3 separate regions of the Homo sapiens genome follow, and regions 1 and 2 are each linked to region 3. The links are contacts of gene promoters, found by promoter capture Hi-C in blood cells and fetal thymus (Javierre and others, 2016). All regions are on one chromosome and are shown on one strand. Each heading gives the region's core, a stretch centred on a gene start or on the middle of the fragment in contact. The rest is flanking DNA. Distances are from core to core; before and after follow the strand shown. Region 1 holds the start of RIPK2 (receptor interacting serine/threonine kinase 2). Region 2 overlaps PARAIL (palmitic acid regulated anti-inflammatory lncRNA). Region 3 holds the start of RMDN1 (regulator of microtubule dynamics 1).

The links. Contacts are between HindIII fragments. The CHiCAGO score rates a contact against its expected background, and 5 or more counts as called.
Region 1: a fragment that was not itself captured here is called in contact with the fragment with the promoter of RMDN1 in region 3 in 1 of 17 cell types (total B cells); the score reaches 5.6 in total B cells.
Region 2: a fragment that was not itself captured here is called in contact with the fragment with the promoter of RMDN1 in region 3 in 1 of 17 cell types (total B cells); the score reaches 5.8 in total B cells.

The regions. Positions count from the first base shown.
Region 1 is chr8:89,757,536-89,762,111 of GRCh38, forward strand. RIPK2 (receptor interacting serine/threonine kinase 2) reads left to right here and starts at 281. Exons shown (of 11, transcript NM_003821.6): 1 at 281-698. The coding sequence starts at 526. PARAIL (palmitic acid regulated anti-inflammatory lncRNA) reads right to left here and starts at 176. Exons shown (of 5, transcript NR_125822.1): 1 at 1-176. RefSeq lists a silencer at 27-146 and enhancers at 687-756, 2,035-2,124. The HindIII fragment of the contact is 1,505 bases long and covers 838-2,342 here.
Region 2 is chr8:89,722,571-89,726,782 of GRCh38, forward strand. It overlaps PARAIL (palmitic acid regulated anti-inflammatory lncRNA), which reads right to left. Exons shown (of 5, transcript NR_125822.1): 2 at 2,948-3,071; 3 at 2,059-2,396. Among named protein-coding and RNA genes, the nearest start is that of PARAIL, 33 kb to the right of the region's middle. RefSeq lists enhancers at 3,134-3,683, 3,259-3,308, 3,339-3,388, 3,439-3,538. The HindIII fragment of the contact is 3,039 bases long and covers 93-3,131 here.
Region 3 is chr8:86,506,915-86,510,875 of GRCh38, forward strand. RMDN1 (regulator of microtubule dynamics 1) reads right to left here and starts at 1,772. Exons shown (of 10, transcript NM_016033.3): 1 at 1,578-1,772; 2 at 81-198. The coding sequence starts at 1,706. It also overlaps the pseudogene SLC2A3P4. RefSeq lists an enhancer at 1,517-1,686. The HindIII fragment of the contact is 14,106 bases long and covers 316-3,961 here.

The sequences.
Region 1 (4,576 bases), core at 340-2,839, 3.3 Mb after region 3:
AAACCTGGGGGATGGGAAGAGAAGACAAAAGGAGCTCCCTTTCCCACTTCCCAGCCGCCCGTCCCAGCCCTCGGCCTCCGCTGCGCGACCCGGGCGGAGGATCCCGGCCGCAGGCCGAGGCGAGAGCCAGGCGGGAGGGCCGCGAGCGGGCTGCCCCTCTCCCCGCCTTGCCGTCCGCCGCTGACGTAACCTGCGAAGTTTGGGGAGGGAGGAGCTCGGGCGGCCGGAGCTGGTCGCTGCGCGCGCCGGGGGGAGGGCCGGGGCTGCGAGAGAGGAAGCTCTTTCGCGGCGCTACGGCGTTGGCACCAGTCTCTAGAAAAGAAGTCAGCTCTGGTTCGGAGAAGCAGCGGCTGGCGTGGGCCATCCGGGGAATGGGCGCCCTCGTGACCTAGTGTTGCGGGGCAAAAAGGGTCTTGCCGGCCTCGCTCGTGCAGGGGCGTATCTGGGCGCCTGAGCGCGGCGTGGGAGCCTTGGGAGCCGCCGCAGCAGGGGGCACACCCGGAACCGGCCTGAGCGCCCGGGACCATGAACGGGGAGGCCATCTGCAGCGCCCTGCCCACCATTCCCTACCACAAACTCGCCGACCTGCGCTACCTGAGCCGCGGCGCCTCTGGCACTGTGTCGTCCGCCCGCCACGCAGACTGGCGCGTCCAGGTGGCCGTGAAGCACCTGCACATCCACACTCCGCTGCTCGACAGGTAGGCAGTCACTGGGGTTCCCTGGAAGAGCCCTCAACTCCTGCATCCCCTCAAGCCCCCTGACAAGCGGGCTCTAGAGCCCAAATGGCAGTGACCGCTTGGGGCCGGCCTCACCTCGTCACCTCTAGGGAGCCCTTCAAGCTTGGGAGATAGGGAGCACCCACCCTTCAAGCTCTGGCACCGTAGGGAGCACAGGCTTCTCTGGAGATGCAGCAGTTGCATTCCTCCACACATCTCTCCATTACCCTTTCTCTCCTTCCCTCTTACTCCTAGGCGTTCTGGCTCCGTACTCCAAAAATCAGCAATCACTGCCTAACTCTAAACGCTGGGTTTACTGAAATTGATGTGTGTTTATATATAGTGGGTGTGGGTTTTGTTTGCTTTGTTTTTTCCTTATTTTTGAAATTGGGCTGTAGGGCTGCACTGTCCAGTAGGTAGCTCTTAGCCACAGGTGGCTATTGAGCACTTGAAATGTGCCCGTCCGAATTGAAGTGTGACCTAAGTGTAAAATACCAGAGTTCGAATGCTTAGTATTTATTAAAAAAAGAACTTATAATATTTTATTATTTGTTTATTGATTATATGCTGAAATAACATTTTTGATATCTTGGGTTAAATATAAGATTAAAATTCATTTTATGTGTTTCTTTTTACTTTATGTGGCCACGAGAAAATTTTAAATTGTATGTGGTGGTGTTCACATTATATGTTTATTGGACCGCACTGCTTTAGAATCAAGGATGTTTTGCTTCTTATTGTTTTTATTTTGGTTTTGGTTTATTATGTGTTGTCAGGAACGTTTTATATCAAACTCAATACTAGCAGTTCAGTTTCTCCCAGTCTCAGTTTCTCTCACAGGGAAGATTAAGTAGAGGAAATGTGTGCTATTTTTGCCACAATAAATTGAACCAAAAGACTGTTAAATGGCCAGAAATTGTAAATGGCTTTCACTTATTGGTTTGTACAGGTTTTAAGGGAAGGTTAGCATTAGTTTCTGTTTTCAGAAGAACATTACAACCGCGTGCCATAGACCTGTGACTGTGTATTAGTCAATGGGTCACTAGTCTTGTGTATTTTACTTCCTACAGGGATTTAACTAGGCCCAGCATTCAGTTCTTAGTGAGTTAACATCCATGATTACAACATTCTCTTCTCCTCCTCCTATATCTAATGTGAAAATACGTCATCCCCGATGCCTGATTGGCCAGAAGCTGTGAGTATCCAGCATCAGATAAATTCCTCAGCTTCCGCCCTGCCAAAGTTACTGGATTTTCACCTGCCTGTGGCTTTTCTTCATTGTCTCTCACTGTCAGGCTTCGATGGCCTAAATGGCACAGGAGATTTGGGACACTTCTAGAGCTTGTTTCCACTTCTTGTCTATCATAATCCAGATTCAGTGATATACAAGGTGTGGTGTCTGTTTACTCCAGGCCTTATATTCTGTGGAGCAAGTGCTGGACAAGTGTGTATATGTGTCTGTAGTCAACTTTTAAGGGTGGTGGTTGGTTAGAGAGGGTGGATATATGTTAGAACCAGTTATGCAAACACTATATGGAAATGTAGCACTGATGGACCCATTAGGTATTGAAAAGCCAATTGATCCTCCCACTTTGGGTGCTGCTTCTCAGGATTTTGATTTATCTAAGCTTTGTGCAGTTTGGGGACCAAGAAGTGAAGAGGGAGTTTCCTTCCCATACTCATGAACAATTTTCATAGTCTAAAATTCTTCACTGAATTGGGTAGGAAATTAATTCTGTCTTCGAGGAAGCCATAAGACCAGCGAAACACTCTGGCATTTACTGCATCACATTCTTTTCTCCAATTTGTTACTTAAGATCTTATCATTGCAGTATTTATGTAGTCTGAGCATTAGATGAGGCTATGCAGTTGACTCACTGGTGTCTCTTTCCTCACTTATAAAATACGAATAATAAATACATGTGTTTCTCGGACTATGGAGAACAATGTTTGCATTGTTCTTTGGGATGACCTGAAAAAAAATAAGTTTATGCAATGTTACATGCTCTTATTTTAATGACTGGTGAATCAGTCTCCATAACCTGACTTCTATCCGATGAGTGGACCTTCCCCAACAATCTTCCCACCCCTTATGAGTAATGAGTCCAATTGGTTGTTCAAATACCCTGTAGATGACATAACTTTTCTGATTAAATTTTTGAGTTAATTTTGGTGATGTGACTATGGAAGCTGTACTTTACACCTTTATTTTCAAAATGTAAAAATCAATTTTTAAAATCTTTTGGCTTTAAAAAAAATTTCCCACTCACTCAATCTTGCCAAAAATCTACCTTCAAGAACTTTCCTACTATATTCTTTGATCAAGCAATAGGGTAGAAAGAATGCAGGCTTTAATGTCCCATGATTGCAATTCAAATCTGACGCCAACCCTGCCACTTATTAGTGTGACCATTAGAAAAGTATTAATTTTTCTGAGCCTTAGTGCCCTCATTTATAAAGTGGAGCTAATGAAACTATGTTTAGAGGGTGATCTTAAGATGCTAGTGCATATAAAGTGACTGACATGTAATAGGGTCACAGTGGAAAGAAGAATGCCTCTTAATGGGAGGAGGAAAGAGTGTGTGAAGTGTCACTGAGACTTCTGCAGCATGCACTCTCTATTGTTCTTAGTATCCAGGAATCTTCAGGGTCATCCTCTATTGTTGGCCTAAATCTCTTGGGGCAGATATGGAACTATTTCCATCTAGGGAATAAACATTTAATTAAAATGGGTCTCACAAACTGATACTGGTTTCCTAGCAGTTGGAGTATTAAGTGATTGAAGGACAGAGAATGAGAGAAGCTTTTCACTTTATGCCTTCTTGTTACTCTTGAATTTTAAGACATATAAATATATGACCTATTCAAAAAATAAATGACGAAGATTCTTTTGCTTTGTTTTTTTGTTTGTTTTTAAAAGTAGTCCTCTTAGTCTGGTCTAGAATGTCTGTTGCTATTCATATTTCAACAGCCATTCATTCAGAGCTTGGGAGGTGTAAGAACTAACTTATCATCATTACTTACCTAATAGGCTTCTCCTGGAAACATTTCTATTTCTGTCATTGCTGCAGCCAACATCCAGTCACTCAGGGTAAAAAAATAATGACATCTCCAATTCCTTTTCATTTTTTTTTTAACCCCCTACAGTCAGTCACTACAACGCGGGCATTCTATTCACTTAGTGTTTTTCTTTCCATTTCCACTGCTACCTTTGTAGTTTTAGGTTCATGTATTAACTGGTATTAAAATCTCCTAACACCTGACTTTCAAACTCTACCACTTTCTACTAATCCTACATCTTGTTGCCAAATTGATCATCTTAAAATTGTATTCTACTGTCATTCCCCAACTCAAAAACTTTCAGTCACACCAGGTACATTGGCACACCCCTGTAGTCCCAGCTACTCAAGAGGCAGAGTAGGGAGGGCCAGTCTGGGCGACATAGCAAGATCTGGTCTGTTAAAAAAAAAAAAAGTTTCCAGTGTGTATTCTGTATGTTAAAAAAAGCAAACAAACCGTCAATCACTTAGTGACTGCTAAGTGAAGTTTCACCACCCTAACCAGGCTTTAAGACTGAGATATGTCCCTAACCTGTCTTATTCACCTTCACTCCTTTTATATTACATAAAAGGAGTGCATTAAACAATTCACAATTTCCCAACTTTAGCCTTCCCTTTAATTTCCTTGAAATCATTTGATACCTACCTATTGGACGTCTGATACAATTGAGCCCAGGAGTTTGAGGCCACCCTGAATAACATAGTGAGACCTTGTCTCTACAAAAAAAAAATAGGCACGGTTGCATGCCTGTGGAGCTAGCTGGCTGCTGGGGAGGCTAAGGTGGGAGGATGGCTTGAATC
Region 2 (4,212 bases), core at 362-2,861, 3.2 Mb after region 3:
AAGAGATCACTAAAATGCCTGCTGGAACTGAGGAAGGGAAAAAACAAGATAAAAACAAACACTAGCAAAACCGATACCCTAGTCACCTAATAAGCTTTTAGACAACAGATCTCCCTCCAGATTCTTGCAAGATTTCTTCTTTGACCTGACTCCCTTTAGATATAATAATTTATATGGTGCCCCTACTATCAGGGTTTAAGTGAGTCATCGCTTTGTTCTCTATATGTCAAAAGCACTCAGTACCTTCCACATATTCCTCTCTTGAAATTCAGAGTGGAACAAGTCACAAAACTTGTTTTCCCTCAGAGATAAGGTTATGCCAAATCAGCCAAGTCCCTGAGAAAAAGGCATCCCCAGTATTTTCATGTACTGGTACCATTTATTATAAAGGGAGACTTTTTAATTTTGTTGATTTGTTTGTTTTGAGGGGCCACATAAATTACTGTAAAATTGCTTTAGATTTCACACTCAGGCAGCGACACACAGTAGCTAAGAGACTAGACTTTGTCAGACAGAATGGGAATCTGGTAGGTTTTACCACTTACTAACCCACATAACATTGGGAAAGTAACATTAGCTAATTGTTAATTACTAAGGCACTGTTCAAAGTGCTTAACTTGAATGAATTCATTTACTCCTCAAAAGTCCCTATGAGATAGGATCCTATAAATGAGGTAACTGAGGTAAAAACAGTAAGTAATATACTCAAGATCACAGAGCTGGTAAAATAAAGAACTGAGAATAAACTCAGGTAGCCCTGTTGCTAAAGCCTATATTCTTAACCACTTCATTGGTGGTTTTTAAAAAATTTAAATACAACCCACTCCAAGAAGTAATTTTTTAAGGGCTGGGTGTGGTGGCTCACACATGTAATCCCAGCACTTTGGGAGGCTGGGGTGGGCAGATCACCTGAGGTCAGGAGTTCGAGACCAGCCTGACCAACATGGAGAAATCCCGTCTCTACAAAAAAAAAAAAAAAAAAAATTATCTAGGCGTGGTGGCACATGTCTGTAATTCCAGCTACTCAGGAGGCTGAGGCAGGAGAATCGCTTGAACCTGGGAGGTGGAGGCTGCAGTGAGCCGAGATCGCACAATGCACTCCAGCCTGGGCAACAAGAGCAAAACTCCGTCTCAAAAAAAAAAAAAAGTAATTTTTACTAGGACTCATTGTAAGAAATATGTTCTGTAACACAACCCAGTACATACACATATGTGTTTATTTTATAGACATGATAAGATATATATATAATTGAAACCAAAATTTGATGAAGCTATGCCTACTCTTACTTCCTGAAATGCAATGATATTTCATATTCTATTTTATTGTTTAATAACTACTGATCACTCCCTACAAAATTGATTTCAAAATCCACTGAGAGTCATGACCTGAAGTTTGAAAACAAGAAACATTTATTTTTACCACCATGGAAAATTTTGGAGGATTAAGTAAGATAACATACGCAGAGCATTTAGCATAACTCCTGGCACATACCATGTGCTAAATTCATGGTAGCTATTTTTATGTATCTTTTTGAAAACTAGCTGCAATTGTGGAAGGCAGGGACAATGAGGGGAAAACCCTGACTGGGCTATAGATGAATTTATTGTCAGTTAGGTCTGTCCTTGGTAGTGAGATGGGGAATTTCTCCAGTATCTTTAACTTGTGCTGCAATGGAAATGTGTATGCAGAAAGAGAGCTGACTCATGGTTATCTCTTCTCCACTACAAAAAATTGCAAATTACAAGTTATTGTGCCTCACCACTGGAAACCTCAGTAAATTCCAAATTATTGATCCATATTTACATCCAGTACTTACACTGGATACGATGATGTATACAGAACTGGTCTTCAAAAGGAGTCCTGCTGGGAAGAAGTGTTCATTTTTTGTTGATGCTTTATCAAATTACCACAAACTTAGTGGCTTAAAACAATGCAAATTTATTATCTTATAGTTCTAGAGGTCAGAAATCTGGACAGAGTCTCACTGAGCTAAAATCATGGTGTCAGTAGGGCTGGGTTGCTTTCCAGCAGTTCTAGGTGAGAACCCATTTCCTTACCTTTTCCAACTTCTTGAAAGAAGCCACCTGTATTGCTTGGCTCATGGCCCCTTCTTTCATCCTCAAAGCCAGAAACAGCAGGTTGAATCCTTCTCACATCACGTCACTCCAACTCTGACACTGACTCCATTGTCACATATCCTTTTCTGGCTCTTCTGCCTCTCTTCCATCTTTGAAAAACCTTTGTGATTACACTGGGTCCAGCTGAATAATTCAGGATAATCTCCCCATTCAAGATCCTTGACTCAATCACATCTTCAAAGCCCTCTTGCCATGTGAGGTAATATCAGAGGTGCTGGAACATTTGGTGGGGTTGGGGCAGTAGGCAACTATTCTGCCTAACACAGGACATAAACCACAAAAAAGAGCAAATAAGATGCAACAACAATAATGATAACACTGAACATTTACTATATGGCAGGCATTGTGCTGAGTAAATTATTTGCCTTGACTCACTTTCTAGGTGAGAAACCAAGACTCCCAAAGATAATGCAAAGTACAGAGTTATACAGATAGAAAGTGGCAAACCCAGGTCTGCCTGACTTCAAAGATCATACTCTCAACCACTTTACTACACATAACAAAATACCAAATCTATACACAATTAGTGGTTTGCAACTTTTCTCTATCAGGAATTCCTTTTGCTATTTTCCCTCCAGGGACCTGATCTTGAAAAATTTTGTAAATTAAACAGCAAAACATTTTATTAACCTAAGCCAAACTTCTGATTCCAACATCTGATAGCTTTGAGCTAAACTCTTTGTCTCTTTTGGGACTTACATAGTTCTAACCCCCTCAAAAAAAATGCAATTAACATTTCATTTTACATATCTTGGCATCATTTTGGAATCCTAAAAACAGGAACTCAAATAACCACCTTTATAGATACCTGATGAGTTGTTTCAGGTTGAAGTAATGATCCAAGAGTTCAGAGAAGGAGATTGATGGTGGTGGTGTAGTCAGAAGAAGTGGAATATAACCTCAGTCTCAAAGAAGCAGAAATTTCCAATGAACTAGAGAAGAAGGAAGAATACAAATAGCGTCTAGGAAGTGAGAACAAGTAAATCTAGGGAAGCTTGTTAGGAAAAACTGGAAAAGAAAATTAAGTAGAGAATAAATAAAGCATTCAGGCTTTGAAACACAGGTAAATACAGTTACATTTAACCAGATAGGAAAATACAGAATCTGGAAAGTTTCTGGGCCACAAAGTGCCACACAGTAAAATCAGGCATCTGCTCCTGGCATGCTTAAGAGCTCAGAATAAAGGACTTCCCCATTCTGCCCCTTCCCCCACTGTAAAGCTCACTGGCTTAAAAAACTGCTCCTTCTGCTACTATCTACCTCATTCTAAGCATCAACTCTAGGTGGGGCTGGTGCCTAGGCATTTTATAATTACTTTTCTATGTCTGCCTAACTTGGCTGAGAACCTACTTCAGAACTGACTCAAAAATCTCACAGATGCTGTCATTCACCCTCAGGATCTGTGTTTAATAATAGAGTCACAAGGCCTATGCAATCCAACTCAGCCCAGGGTCTGGCTTAGCCAATGTCTGCCAGCTGGTCTCATCCCCACACCCCAGGCCCCCACTTCATCACCAGTACATTGGCATCAATATTTATCTTTTCAAATTGGCATGCAATTTAAAAGAATGTTTTTATCTCACAGATCAGCAGGTATCCTATTATTATCTAGTTTTATGCTGATTTTTTAGGAGCTAACTAATGAAAAGACTCAATCATTGTTTTTGTGGGAAGATGTTGAAACTTTACCCTTTCTGGGCAATCTGTGCTTCACTATTGTTTCACTATATTTGTAATATTCAAAACCTCAATAGTCAAAACAAGCATCCCATAATGCCAAAGCAGCCAACCCATTGCATTAGTGCTATGAGTGGTAACTGAGGCAAAAGAAGACCCTTAGAATTCTCTAAATGTTTTGAGGTTTAGGGAAAGAGTTGTATTAGAAAACAATCCTTAATCAGGTTGAGATTTAACTGCATTCAAAGTCAGTGTTAAATTCTTGCTAAGAGATTTGATGTTATACATGAGATTATATAAACAGGTACAAGTCACAGCAAATACAGGAGAGATAATAAACCAAAACTGACTGTCACAACTAGATCCTGAAAGCCAGTTTGGTAACTCTGGCACATT
Region 3 (3,961 bases), core at 522-3,021:
TTCTTTGTTTTAAAATAAAAATTCTGAATGTACGCACACAAAAAAACTCTAAATGTTCCATATATCTAATTTATGCTTACCTTTGGCTGTGGCATGAACCACAGCAGCCTGAGAGATAACCTGGTAAGTTTCAAAACCCAAATACGACAAAGCTGAGAGTAAAAGGCCTCTTTTGAAAGTTCCTGGGTTTCCCATTACCTATGGAAACAATTATGTTAAGAGTTACAAACTTTGAAAATTTGAAGGTACTGCTACCCCAAGCAAAAATTACATGAATTTTCTCCCACCCCCAAAGCAATCGATCATAATACTGGAAGCTTAAAAATTACTTCATCAAAATCTTTAGTAAAACTATCTCAAAGCGTATCTTATTGAGAAAAAGATATCCCCTGGAGTCGCCGCTCATCTAAAAATCACACTCCTGCTGGAAAGGAAGAGCTACAACTTATTTGCTACAACTTATTTGCAAATGCATGGATATTGCAAATTGTATGAAGTAAAATATGAGACACCAACACATAATAAAAATGAATCTTACAGACAAGATTATCATATATAGTAATTACTACATATAAAAATGTACATGGCTAACTTTTAAATTTTTTTGTAGAGACAGGGTCTCACTGTGTTGCCCAGGCTGGTTTCAAACCCCTGGACTCAAGCAATCCTTCCGCCTCGGCTTCCCAAAGTGCTGGGATTACAGGCTGAGCCAAGGGGCCAGGCCTAAAATGGGACTTCAAACTCATCATTGTTCCAATTTGAAAACTTACGGCTAACTAGTTTCATACTTAGAACTCCTCCCATCTCTCTGCCTATATTATCTATAACCTCCCCATTTGGTTATAAACTTCCAAGGAAGGGGAATATGCCAAATTTTAACCACCCCTCCCCACCATCAGTCCCATAATAATTCTGAAAGATTTTAACTGAGCAGTTAAAAATTTGAGTTTAAAATAATGAAACCCCTAGTTCATGTGAAATATATCATATGCATTAATGCCATTCCAATTCCCTGACAAGAATAAACAGAGGCCCACGAGCAGTCTAATAGAAATACCAGAACTGAGACTACAACATGCCGACAACCTTCATTGACGTTATGCAGATACAACGGGCAACTGAGAAATAAACATTTTTAAACAAAAACCTAAACAGTATGAAATCTCTGCTTCTGAGTCGTAGAACTTTTTAAATCACACACCACACTTTTCAAAGTCTGAAAGGGGCAGCCTCAAGCGCTGTTGTATCTGTCATCGCCTACAGGGAGAATAATTTCACAGCGGTCAAGGTTCTTTCCCGTCCTGTTTTACATTTCGCACAAGAAGGGCGGGTAGCAGGCAGCTTCTGGGGCGCGTGGGGGCAAACCCCACTCCTTCTCTGACAGCCCCAGTTAAGGATAGTGGAGGTTTGCAAAATGGAAGGGACCTGTCCGGGCGTTCCAGGCACAGTGGCCCCGAGTTCTTTCCTCGGTTCACCACATTCCTTAGGCAGCGCGGGGCCGCCACCACTTAAGTTAAGGGGGAGCCGGAACCCACTGAGTAGGAAGTGAGGAGCGGGAGCCAGGACCACGGGGGTACCTCGAAGCCGCGGAATCGACAGGGGCCGCAATGCCCGCGGCTGCCCGAAGTCCCCGCAGGGAGACGAGACCCCGGGGCGGCTCCACGTCGGAAAGGCAGAAGGCGCCACAGTCGAGCAGCCAGCGCCATGACCTGCAACTTGCGGGCTGACCCTGCACTACTTCAGGCAGCTACGGAGGCGGGCGGGGCTAAAGGAGATTCAATCCTTCCGGAAAGAACCGCGCCCGCCCGCCTCCTGCACAGCACCTCTTCCGCCTCCTGCCCAGCACCTCTTCCGCCCCCATGGTTTCCGGTGCACGGGCTTAGGGGGTGGGAAATACCCCGATTGGGTGGGACTTAATGGACTTTCCGCGCCTGCGTCCAGGACTGAGGCCGTGAGAGCGCTCTCTTCAGGCGCTCTGACTTGTTTCTGCTCCATCTCTCTAGGGGGTCTTTCATGGTTTGGGCACAAGGATTCGTCGCCAGAATAGAACTGAAAGCTCGGAAATAGACCCGAGAATACAAGTATGCCAGAAAAAAAATTGTCATTTTAATTATCTGCTGCCTTCAAAAGTAGATTGAATCTTGGTACTAGTGGGTCTTTTTTGGAAGTAAATAATTGGAAGAATTATGTTGCCCAACATGAAGAAGGGAAAGTCTCAGTCTCTTCGACTGAGCGACTCAAGGGGGTAGATTCAAGAGAGAGTCCAGAGCAAAGAAACAAAAAATGCAAAGCGTTTTGGGAAGAGGAACTAGCGGGAGGAGGCCTCTGGAAAGGATACTGATGCCCTTGAATGCTAGGGCATGTGTAGTAAAAAACAGAAACAAAAACAAACCCTGGTCTCCCCTAAAATTCTTCAATAAGATGTTTTACTTACTCGAGCAAAGTATTTTATTTTACTCGAGTAAAATAAAATTTCTTGCTCGAGTGGAATTCTTTTGTGGGAAAATGAAGAAATTTTGGATCCTACTTGAGGCCTGATCAGGGTGGGTGGAAACACAGACTGCAAAGGGAGTACCTACTATATGGGTTTAACGAAAAATCTTATGGGTAATAAGGGAGGCGAGTCATGGTTTTAAAAAATTAGGTTGCATTTCTATGGTACTTTTAATACTGTATAGGGAATTAATACATAGTCGTATTGATCTTCCGAACTACCTTGTGAAGTAAGTGGTATCCCAGGTTTACAAATGAAAAAACTGTAACTCAAAGAGATGTATTAACCTAACCAAGGATATGTTAGAAGACAGGAATCCATGTCTTTCTACTCTGAGTCCAGTGCTCCTTCTACTATATGATTGCTACCTCCACTAGTCCCATTAAATCAGCTGTATTTCTTTAGGATTATGTCTTTAAAGTCTATCTTTAAAAATATATAGATCTCCTTCCCAACTTCTGAAACCTAGCTGTTTTTTCCCAAAGACAGAATCACTTTTATTTTATGCATTTCTACTGGCAGCTACCCCCTCAACATTGCTAAATGTTTATGCCACTGGATACCATGATAACAGTGAAATTAAGTTTCTGATATCTCTGCTAGAGTGAATTTGTAATTAAGTTTTTAGCTTTGAAAAAAAAATTAGATCCTAAGAAAAGTTGCAGGAACTCCCATATATTCTTCAGCTAGATTCAGCCATTGTTACCTTTTTCTCACATTTGCTTTATCTTTCTTTACATATCTTACCTATAATACACATATTATATTCCTAGTATTTTCTGTTGTAAGGCCTTTTGAGAGTAGATTACAGATATCATGACTCTTCAGTCTTAGAAACAAGACATTCCCTTACTTAGTCCCAGTTTAATTATCAAATTCAGGAAACTGAAATTGACAGAATACTATTATTTAATATACAAATTTTGTTTAATTCCCAATACTGTCCTTTATACTAATGATTTTTTTTTCTAAATTCAAGATCAAATCTTGATAATGTCTTGCATTTGTTATGTTTCTACTTTCTTTAAATCTTTAAATCGTCAGCCTTGGTCTTTCACGACATTAGTATTTTTTAAATGTATAGTCCCATCGGTTTAAAGCAGGGTTTCTCAGCCTTGGCACAATTGAACTTTTGGGCTGAAGAACTCCTTCAGCCCGTCAGGCCATCAGATGATTGCAGCCTTGGCCAATATCTGACTGCAACATCAAGAGAGATGATGAGCCAGAAGCACCCAGCTAAGCCACTTCTAAATTCCTAAACCACAGAAGCTATGACAGATAATAAATGATTGTTCCTGTTTTAAGCCACTAAATTTGATGTAATCTGTTACACAGCAACTGATAACTAATATAACAGCCAAGTAAAGCATAGAGAGTTGGAGTGTGGAGTTTCAGAGGAAAGGTGTGGAAGTTTGATAACCTTAAGAATATAGGCTGGGCGTAGTGGCTCACACCTGTAATCCCAAT